2 separate regions of the Homo sapiens genome follow, and region 2 is linked to region 1. The links are contacts of gene promoters, found by promoter capture Hi-C in human tissues and cell types (Jung and others, 2019). All regions are on one chromosome and are shown on one strand. Each heading gives the region's core, a stretch centred on a gene start or on the middle of the fragment in contact. The rest is flanking DNA. Distances are from core to core; before and after follow the strand shown.

Evidence for each region. Contacts are between HindIII fragments. The study calls those that stand out against the background at their distance.
Region 2: a contact is called between a fragment that was not itself captured here and the fragment with the promoter of RNF212 in region 1, in 1 of the 25 tissues and cell types used here (IMR-90 fibroblasts).

What each region holds. Positions count from the first base shown.
Region 1 is chr4:1,111,051-1,115,789 of GRCh38, reverse strand. It overlaps RNF212 (ring finger protein 212), which reads left to right and starts at 2,226. Exons shown (of 10, transcript NM_001131034.4): 1 at 2,226-2,434. The coding sequence starts at 2,326. It overlaps LOC124900647 (nascent polypeptide-associated complex subunit alpha, muscle-specific form-like), which reads right to left and starts at 2,151. Exons shown (of 3, transcript XM_047416477.1): 1 at 2,038-2,151. LOC105374344 (a long non-coding RNA gene) reads right to left here and starts at 2,151. Exons shown (of 3, transcript NR_134676.1): 1 at 2,038-2,151. It also overlaps the pseudogene TMED11P. The HindIII fragment of the contact is 9,480 bases long and covers 1-4,739 here.
Region 2 is chr4:1,256,692-1,261,463 of GRCh38, reverse strand. No RefSeq gene overlaps it. Among named protein-coding and RNA genes, the nearest start is that of CTBP1-DT, 9.6 kb to the right of the region's middle. The HindIII fragment of the contact is 7,601 bases long and covers 1-4,772 here.

The DNA.
Region 1 (4,739 bases), core at 977-3,476:
GATAAGGACAGGTGTGACAAGCAAATAAGGCATGCAAGTGCTTGGCCTAATGCCTGGCATAAAGGCTGGACTCAAATGATGAAATCTACCACTATTGGGTAATATTCGCTTTGCCTGATGGTAGCAAATAAAATATACGAATAGGTCAAATTCCTGATATTTTACACCAAAATACAAAACCATCTTTTATAAGGTTGATTTTTACTCTCTTATACTTGGCTAAGCAACAGATTCTGGTTTAGAAAAGCAGACTGCACGGATACGTTGGTGTAAGATATTAATTGGGTAATATTAAATACCTTGAATGCCCACAACAACCCTCCCCTCAAAATCGTGAGTTAAGTACTTTATGACACTAAACCTACTTCTTTTCCGCATAGGACCGTGAAGAAAATTTTCGAACGACCAGTGAAGATACAAATAGCAATGTTTTATGGTGGGCTTTTGCACAAATATTAATCTTTATCTCAGTCGGAATTTTCCAAATGAAGTACCTGAAAGACTTCTTTATAGCTAAGAAGATTGTTTAAAATATTATCAATAAGGACAAATAATCTGCATAATGTTTGAGTTAATAAATCAAAATACCTGCATATATGTGTATTATTTTTATGATTTCAAAGATACCAGAGATTGAGATTAACGTTATATCATTATAACATTGAGAGAATGCTTTTATAATGCAGCTTCTGAATTTGATAGATTAGGCACCTCATCCTATTCTTAAACTTATTTTTGAGACTGAGTCTCGCTCTGCTGCACAGGTGCCGTCAGGCTCACCACAGGCTCGATCTCCAGGGCCCAAGCAATCCTCCCACCTCAGCCTCCCGAGTAGCTGGGACCCCAGGGGCCCACCACCACACCCAGCTAATTTTTGTATTTTTTGTAGAGACGGGGTTTTGCCACGTTGCTGGTCTTGCTATTTTAAACTTGGTAGAGATCAGCACTGTCTAACAGAAATAAAAGTGGGCTACATACATAATTCTAATTTGCTGTTGTTGTTGTTGAGACGAAGTCTCACTCTGTTGCCCAGGCTGGAGTGCAGTGGTGTGATTTCGGCTCACTGCAACCTCCGCCTCGTTCAAGCGATTCTCCTGCCTCAGCCTCCGGAGTAGCTGGGATTACAGGCGTGAGCTACCGCACCCAGCCCATACGTAATTCTAAGTTTTCTAGTCTCCACATTGAAAAGGATTTTTTGAAAGGGTAAAATCAACGCTACTGATATATATTTAACCTAATATATCAAAAATATCATGTTAACATGTAATCAATATAAAATTACTAAGAAGGTTTTCATACGAGGCCCTGGAAACAGCTGTATTTTACTCACATCTTTCGGGGCGCAGGGGTCACTTGGCCCGTAGCTACCGGGAGCGCTCACCCTGCGCTCTCCCGGCACAAGCACTTGCCTGAGCCTCTCGATCCGAGCTTTGCAGCGTCCCAGCGGGTGGAAACTCTCAAAACCACGCAGAGGACAATTTTATAAAAAGTCACTTCCCCATGCTGGAACCTGGAAGCAGCAGAGGTCCTTCCCGAGCTACGCCTTCCGTTTCAGAGGGAAGCAGGCTCAGGCCTCCCGTGCTGAGGTCTCTGCGCCAGCGGCCACCTGGACACTAGTCCCAAAGCGTGCAGCGCGGCCTGGCCCCCACCCCCAACTGCCCCCCCCACCCCCACCGCCTCATCACACCCCACCCCCACCGCCTCACGCCCCCACACCCACCCCAACTCCCACATCCCCACTCCCGCTCCCACCCCAACTCCCACACCCACTTATCCCTCCCTCCCTCCTATCCCGCTCCCCGGGCCCCCAGGGCCCCCACGCCCACTCTCCCCTACTCCTCCCCTGCCTCGCCCAGCGCACTACCCTGGCCGCCCTGGCCTCCGGCCCAGCTCCCGGCCCTCAAGGTGGGCCTGGCCCGCATCCCCCGCCCTCGGCGCTCCCCCTCCCCCTCCCCCACTGCTGTCGCGCCGCGACGCCTCCTCAGCGCAGCCGCCATTCCCCGCGCCCGCCACCCAGGCCCGGCTTCCACAAAACACCTGAGGACCGCCAAGACAGGGGCGGGACGTTGGTGCTCGCGGTGCGTTCCTCCGCCTACTCCAGCCCAAACGACCTGGGAGACGAGTCACACGCGCCCTCCCAGGTGCTGCGGGAGAACCCGCGAGGTTGGCGGGAGGGCGCGAGCTCCAGTGCGCGGGCGCAGGGCTGCCGTCGACTTTGCGCAGGCGCAGAGCTGCCCGCCTTCGGGCCCTGCGCGGGGAGGCTGGTCCCAACCTTGCGTGGGCTTCGCGTGGGCCCGGCCTCGCCGCTGCGGTCGCCCGCCTGGCATGGCCAACTGGGTGTTCTGTAATCGCTGCTTCCAGCCGCCCCACAGGACGTCGTGCTTCAGCCTCACCAACTGCGGGCACGTGTACTGCGACGCCTGCCTCGGCAAAGGTCAGGGCTTCCCGAACGCAGGCTGGAGAGGGGAGGGGAGCGGCAAGGGGGTCAGGGAACTCCGGGGGATGGGGGACTTGGGTGGGAGGGCCATGGGGGCACGTGGGGGGCTGCGGAGGAGAGAGGGCGCGTGGAGAAGGGGGAGGGGGCAGGGGGAGGGGGATGCCAGGGGAGAGGCCGCGAGGAGCAGGGGAACTCTGAGGGGAGGGGGACCTGGGGTGGAGGGGCCGCGGGGGCGCGTGGGGGGCCGAGGGGGAGAAACGGCGCATGGAGCGGGGGGGGCATGGGGGGGTGAGAGGCCGCGGAGGTAGGGGTATTCGGAGGAGGGGCCACCGGGGAGTGGGGGCCGCGGGCGTGATGAGGGGCCCGTGGGGAGAGGGGGACACTGGAGAAGCGGTGGGGAGGGAGCGGGGGAGTGAGGGGCTGCGGGAGGGTGGGGAAAGAGGGGACGCCGGAGGTGGTGGGGGGCTGCAGGGAGGAAGGGGACGCCAGAGGAGGGGGGCAAGGTGGGGGATGTGGGGGGTCAAGGCTTGGGGGGGAAGGGGGATACCGAGGAGATGGGGGGAGGGGAGACGCCAGGGGAGGAGGGCGTGGGGGAGGGTCCGCAGGCAGGAAGGGGCCGTGGAGGGGAGGGGCCGCCGGGGGGAGCGGGATGCAAGATGAGGGGGACACAGGGGTCGGGCCACGAGTCCTGTCAGTCGGGGGCTCTGGCTTGCAGGCTGCGGGTCCGCCTGGAGGACCTGGGGGAGAAGCGGGCAGGCGGCAACCTTAACGCCAGTGGAGGACTCTGGCCCTATTCCATGGGCAGCGCGGGGCCCTGGTGTCAAGTGGACAGTCGCATTGTCAGGGAGGCGTTTTTCTTTCTGTGAAAATTTTGTGTTGAACTGATGTTTATGCAAGAACAAAAGCAAAAACACAGTGAGCTTTTACCAAGCGAACTTCCCCGTGAAAGCAGCCAGCTGGGTGCCGGTGGCTCACAGCCCTCCAGCCCCAGGGGACGCCAGCTGTGCTGACCTCCATCCTCGGAGTTGGCCTTAGACCCATGGAGCCTTAGTGAATGCAGCCCTACAACCAGCCCTACAGCAAAGCCGCTTTCTGTGGCTCCCCATCTTTCTTCCTTTTTCTCCCTTCCTTCTCTTTGCCTCTTTCAAGGCAGAGCTCAGCTTTGTCGCCCAGGCTGGAGTTCGGTGGCGGGATCTCGGTTTACTGCAGCCTCCGCCTCCCAGGCTCAAGTGATTCTCCTACCTCAGCCTCCAGGGTAGCGGGGCTACAGGCATGTGCAGCCACGCACCCCTGATTTTTTTAATTTTTCACAGAGATGGGGTCCCTTTGTTGCCCAGGATGGTCTCCAATTCCTGTCCTCTAACAATCACCGGCCTTGGCCTCCCGAAATGTGGGATTAGCAAAGTTTATCATTGTATTTGTATGTAACTGTAGTTCATCTACTTTCATTGTTGTGTGGTGTTCCATTGTATGGATACACCCCAAGTTACTCATCGTTTCCACTGTCCATGGCCCTTTGGGTTGTTTGCAGATTTGGCTGCAGAAATAATGCTACTGTGAATCTTCTTGCTCCTGTCTTCGGTGATCTTAGGTACACATTTCTGTTGGGTGTGTAACCTGGGAGTGGAGTTGTTGATTTCAGGTGTGTATTTAAAAACAAAAGTGTCTCGGGCAGCGAGGTGAAAAGTAGATTGGAGGGAGATAGAAACTGTGGGAGAGACTGCAGCTGAGCACATGAGAGGTGATGGGGAGAAGTGATAGGTTCAGGAGAAGTTAGGTAGATTCAGCAGACATGAGTCGGAGACAAGGGCTAGAGAACTGGACAGGGTTTCACTGCTAGACAAAACACTGGAGAGGAGCCCAGCGGGAGGGAACCCAGCAGGGTGGGGCACAGCAGGGTGGGGTGCAGGGCCCCTGAGCTCATGTCTGGACACGGCCTGTATCCTGTGAGAGCCATCCAGGGGAAGACAAGAGGCAGTTGCACATGTGGGTCTGGAACTCAAGACAGCCAGGAACACATTTGGGGAGCGATTAATACGGGATAATAATCCTATAATCCTAGATATTGGAGTGTGGAGAGCCCCAAAGGTGAAGGAAACTAGAAGAGACTATCTTGTTGGAAAGAGCATTTGTTGAAGGAGGTAAAGAAGATGTCAGGTAAAAAAGAGATGTTGATGAACTGGACATCCCAGTGAAGTCAAGGAATTGGTGTTTGAAAGTGTCCATTGGACCAGTGAGGAGGGCACTGGTGACCCAAGATAATGTTCCCCGAAGATAACATTGTTAGGAATGATGGAGACGC
Region 2 (4,772 bases), core at 2,027-4,526, 140 kb before region 1:
AGTGCAAGCCACCCGCCACCCCAGGCTTCTTCCTCACCGTTTCTCAGCCCTACCGCTGGAAAGCAGCCCTTCCCCCATGACCATGAACGCCACTGTGTCTCCCTGCCTTGCTCCTTCAATCCCCCTGAGAGCAGCCAGAGTGACCCTTATGAAGACAAACCCAAAATCTCTCCCTGCCCCCAAGTCCTTCCACCCTTCTCATGGCCCACAGAGCACAGCTCCCATCCTGGCCACCTCTATCCAGCTTCCCCACCTGCTACACTCCTCCTGCCTCACCCAGCCCCGGGGATTGCTTTCCAGGGACACCGTTGGTGTTCCTCATGTCTGCTGATCCCAGGCCTGTGGCACTTAGGAACCCAACAGTGTGATGCACCTGCCGCAAGGCCTGGCAGGAGTCCAAAGGCCCAGGGTAGGCTCGGGACCCAGAGGATGGGGCAAAGTGGGCAGGACTGGAGCCATCACCCCTAGGTCTAAACCCAAACATTGCCAGACACTAGCTCTGGGGTCCCAGGCCACAAATGGTTACACAGAAGTCCCTGTGCGCCGTCCCCTTGGCTCCTGTACCCTGTATTGTAGCAGCGCTGTCTCACCAGTCTGCTTGGAGTTTGACACGAGTCTAGCCGGGTGAGAAGCGCGTAGGGCAGCGGCGAGCAGTCTGTGCTGTGTTAGCTGGTGGTTCAGCAGAGTTGGACAGTGAGTCTAGCTGGGTGAGAGGCGTGTAGGGCAGCGGCGGGCAGCCTGTGCTGTGTTAGCTGGTGGTTCAGCAGAGTTGGATGCGAGTCTAGCTGGGTGAGAGGCGTGTAGGGCAGCGGCGGGCAGCCTGTGCTGTGTTAGCTCGGGTTTCAGCAGAGTTGGACACGTAGTTGGGTAAGAGGCATGTAGGGCGGGCAGTCTGTGCTGTGTTAGCTCACTGTTCAGCAGAGTTGGATGCGTAGTTGGGTGAGAGGAGTGTAGGGCAGCGGCGGGCAGCAACACAATAAACCAACTAGATCTAACACACATCCAGACATTCTACCAAGAACAATAGCAGCATATACATCCTTCTCAAATAAGCATGAGTCATTTTCCAGGATACACCATCTGTTAGGCCACAAATTAGGTCTCAATCAATTTTAAAATGTAGGTATCATACAAACTCTTCTCCAACCACAATAGGATAACGTTAGAAATCAATAACAGAAGTAAAACTGAAAAATCCACAAATTTCTGGAAGTTAAACAACACACTCTTAAACAACCAACAGTCCAGAGAAGAAATCACAAGGGAAAAAGAAAATACTTAGAATGAAAACGAAAACGCAGCAGACCAGCACTTACAGGATGCTGCAAAAGCAGTGCCACAGGGGAAGTTCATAGTTATAAATGCTTACACTAAAAAACTAGCAAGATCTCAAACCCGCAACCTAACTTTACAACTTAAGGAGCTAGAAAAAGAAGAATAAACTAAACCCAAAGCTAGCAGAAGAAAAGAAATACTGAAGGTTAGAGAAGAGATAAATGAAATAAAGAATTGAAAAACAATAGAGAAAAACCAGTAAAACCAAAAGTTAGTTCTTTGAAAGATCAACAAAATTAACAAGCCTTTCACTAGATGGACTAAGAAAATAGAGGGAAAACTCCAGTTACTAAATCAGAAATGAAAGTGGGCACATTACTACTGACTCTATAGAAATAAAAAAAAATTGTAAGAGAGTACTATGAACAATTGTATGCCAACACATTGGATAACATGGATGAAATAAACAAATTCCTAGAGACACAAAATCTACTGAGAAACAAATCAGGAATAAATAGAAAGTCTTAACAGAATTATAACTAATGTGGAGATTGAATCAGTAATGAAAAATCTGACAAAGAAAAGCCCTGGACTTGATGGCTTCACTGGCAAATTCTCCCAAATATTGGATGAAGAATACCGATTCTTCTCAAACGCTTCAGAAAAACTGAAGGCGAAGGACTACTTCCTAACTATTCTATGAGGCCAACATTATCCTGATGCCAAAGCCAGACGAAGACACTATGAGAAAAGAAAACTGGGCTAAGTGTGGCAAATCACACCTGTAATCCAAGTACTTTGGGAGGCTGAGGCAGGAGGATCACTTGAAACCAGGAGTTCAAGACCAGCCTGGGCAACATATTGAGACCCCATCTCTACAAAAGAATAAAATAGGCTGGTGTGGTGGTGCATGCCTGTAGTCCTAGCTACTTGGGAGGCTAAGGTGGGAAGATCACTTGAGCCCGGGAGTTCCAGGCTGCAATGAGCCATGATCGCACCACTGCACTCCAGCCTAGGCAGCAGAGCAAGACCCTGTCTCTAAAAAAAAAAAAAAAAAAAAATTTAAAGAAAGAAAACTACAGACCAGGGCCAGACACAGTGGCTCATGCCTGCAGCCCCAGCACTGTGGGAGGCTGAGGTGGAAGCTCAGGAGTTCAAGAACAGCCTGGGAAACATGGGGAAGCCCCATCTTTACATAAAATACAAAAATTAGCTGGGCATGGTGGCATGTGCCTGTAGTCCCAGCTACTCAGGAAACTGAGGTAGGAGAATGGCTTGAGCCAGGAGGTATAGGCTGCAGTAAGCCAAGATTGCATTACTGCACTCCAGCCTGGGCAACAGAGCAAGACCCTGTCTCAAACAAAACAAAACAACTACAGAACTAACATCCCTGATGAATATAGATGTGAAAATTCTCAACAAAATACTAGCAAACCTAATTCAGCAGCATATTAAAAAAAGGATTACACACTATGACCAAGTGTGACTTATTCTTGGAGTACTAAGACGGCTCAACTGAAAATGGATCAGTGCAATACACAACATTTCCAGAAGGGGAAAATCTCCCACATAACCATCTGAATTGATGCAGTGGCAGCATTTGACAAAATTCAACACATTTTATGATTTAAAGAAAAACACTTAACAAACTAGGAATAAAAGGAAACTGCCTCAACATTACATAATAAAAGCCATATACGAAAAACCCACAGGAAGGGTGCCTGTTTCCCCACTGCTATTCAGCATAGTACTAAAAGTGCTAGCCAGAACAATTAGGCATGAAAAATAAATGAACTAATAAATGAATTCAGCTAAGTAGCAGGATAAAAAATCAATACATTGTTCATGCTAACTAACAATGAACAGTCCAAAAAGCAAATTATGAAAACAATTCTACTTACAGTAGCAGCAAAAAGAATAAAATAAAATATTTAGGAATCAGCTTAACTGAGGAGGTTAAAGACTTCTGTACTGACAACTACAAAAAAATTGCGGTAAGAAATTAAAGAAGACATAAATAAATAAAGAAGACATCCCATGTTCATGGATTGGAAGATGTCAATAGTACTCAAAGTAATCTACAGATTTAATTCTACCCCATCAAAACCACAAAGCCTTTTTTTCTCAGAAATGGAAAAACCCATCCTAAAACTCATATAGAATCTCAAGGGATCCCAAATAGCAAAAGCAATGTTGAAAGAAAAGAAGAAAGTTAGAGGACTCACACTTCCTGATTTCAATACTTACTACAAAGCTATAGTAATCAATAATTTCATAATCTGGTAAACTCACTATAAAGCTACAGTGATCAAGAATACAGTAATCTACAGTCTGTCGTCATACCAGTGTGGTACCCTGGACCTACATGTCTATCTTTATGCCAGTACCACACTGGCATAGAGACAGACACATAGGTCAATGAAATAGAACACAGAGTTCAGAAATAAACCTTCACATATATGGTCAAATAATCTTTGACAAGGTGCTGAGACCGTCCAGTGGGGAAAATAATAGTCTTTTTGACAAGCGGTGTTGGGAAAACAGGACATTAATTTGCAGAAGAATAAAGCTGGACCTTTTGCCTCACACCATATACAAACTACAAAAACCTAAATGTACAATCTAAAACTGTAAAACTCTAAAAAATAATAATAAGACAAAGCTATACAACTTTGGATTTGGCAATAATTTCTTGGATATGACAACAAAAGCACAGGCAAAAAACAATGTCAACAGAGTAAAGAGGCAACTCACTAGATGGGAGAAAATAGTTGCAAGTTGTGTATGTGATCAGGAATTAGTATCCTTAATATGTAGAAAACTCCTAAAACTCTACAATGAAACAAAAAGCTGATTCAAAAATAGACACATGACTTGAATAGACATTTCTCTAAATAAGTACTCAAATGGGCAATATGTATATAAAAATGCTTGACGTCACCATTCATTAGGCAAATGCATATCTAAACTACAATAAGGCTGGGGAACAGTGGCTCACACCTGTAATCCCAGCACTTGGCGAGGCTAAGGGATTGCTTGAGCCCAGTTCAAGACCAACCTGAGCAACATAGTGAGACCCCCCCACACCACTTCTCTAAAAATAAAATAAAATAAAATAAAATTTAAAATTAGCCAGGCATGGTGGTGTATGCCTGTATTTCCAGCTACTCAGGAGACTGAGTAGGAGGATCACTGGAGCCCAGGAGGTCAAGTCTGCAGTAAGCTATGATTGCACCACTTATACTCCAGCATGGGAAACAGAGTGAGACCCTGTCTCAAAAACAAAAAACAAAACAAAAACCAAACAAAACTGCAATGATATACCACCTAACACCATTAGGTTGGTTACTATATTAATAAAACAAACAAGCAAACAAAAAAACACACAAAAAATCCAGAAAATAACTAGTGTTGGCGAGGATGTGGAGAAACTGGAACCCTTCTGCACTGTTGCTGGGAATGTGAAATGGTACATCCACGATGGAAAACAGTATGGT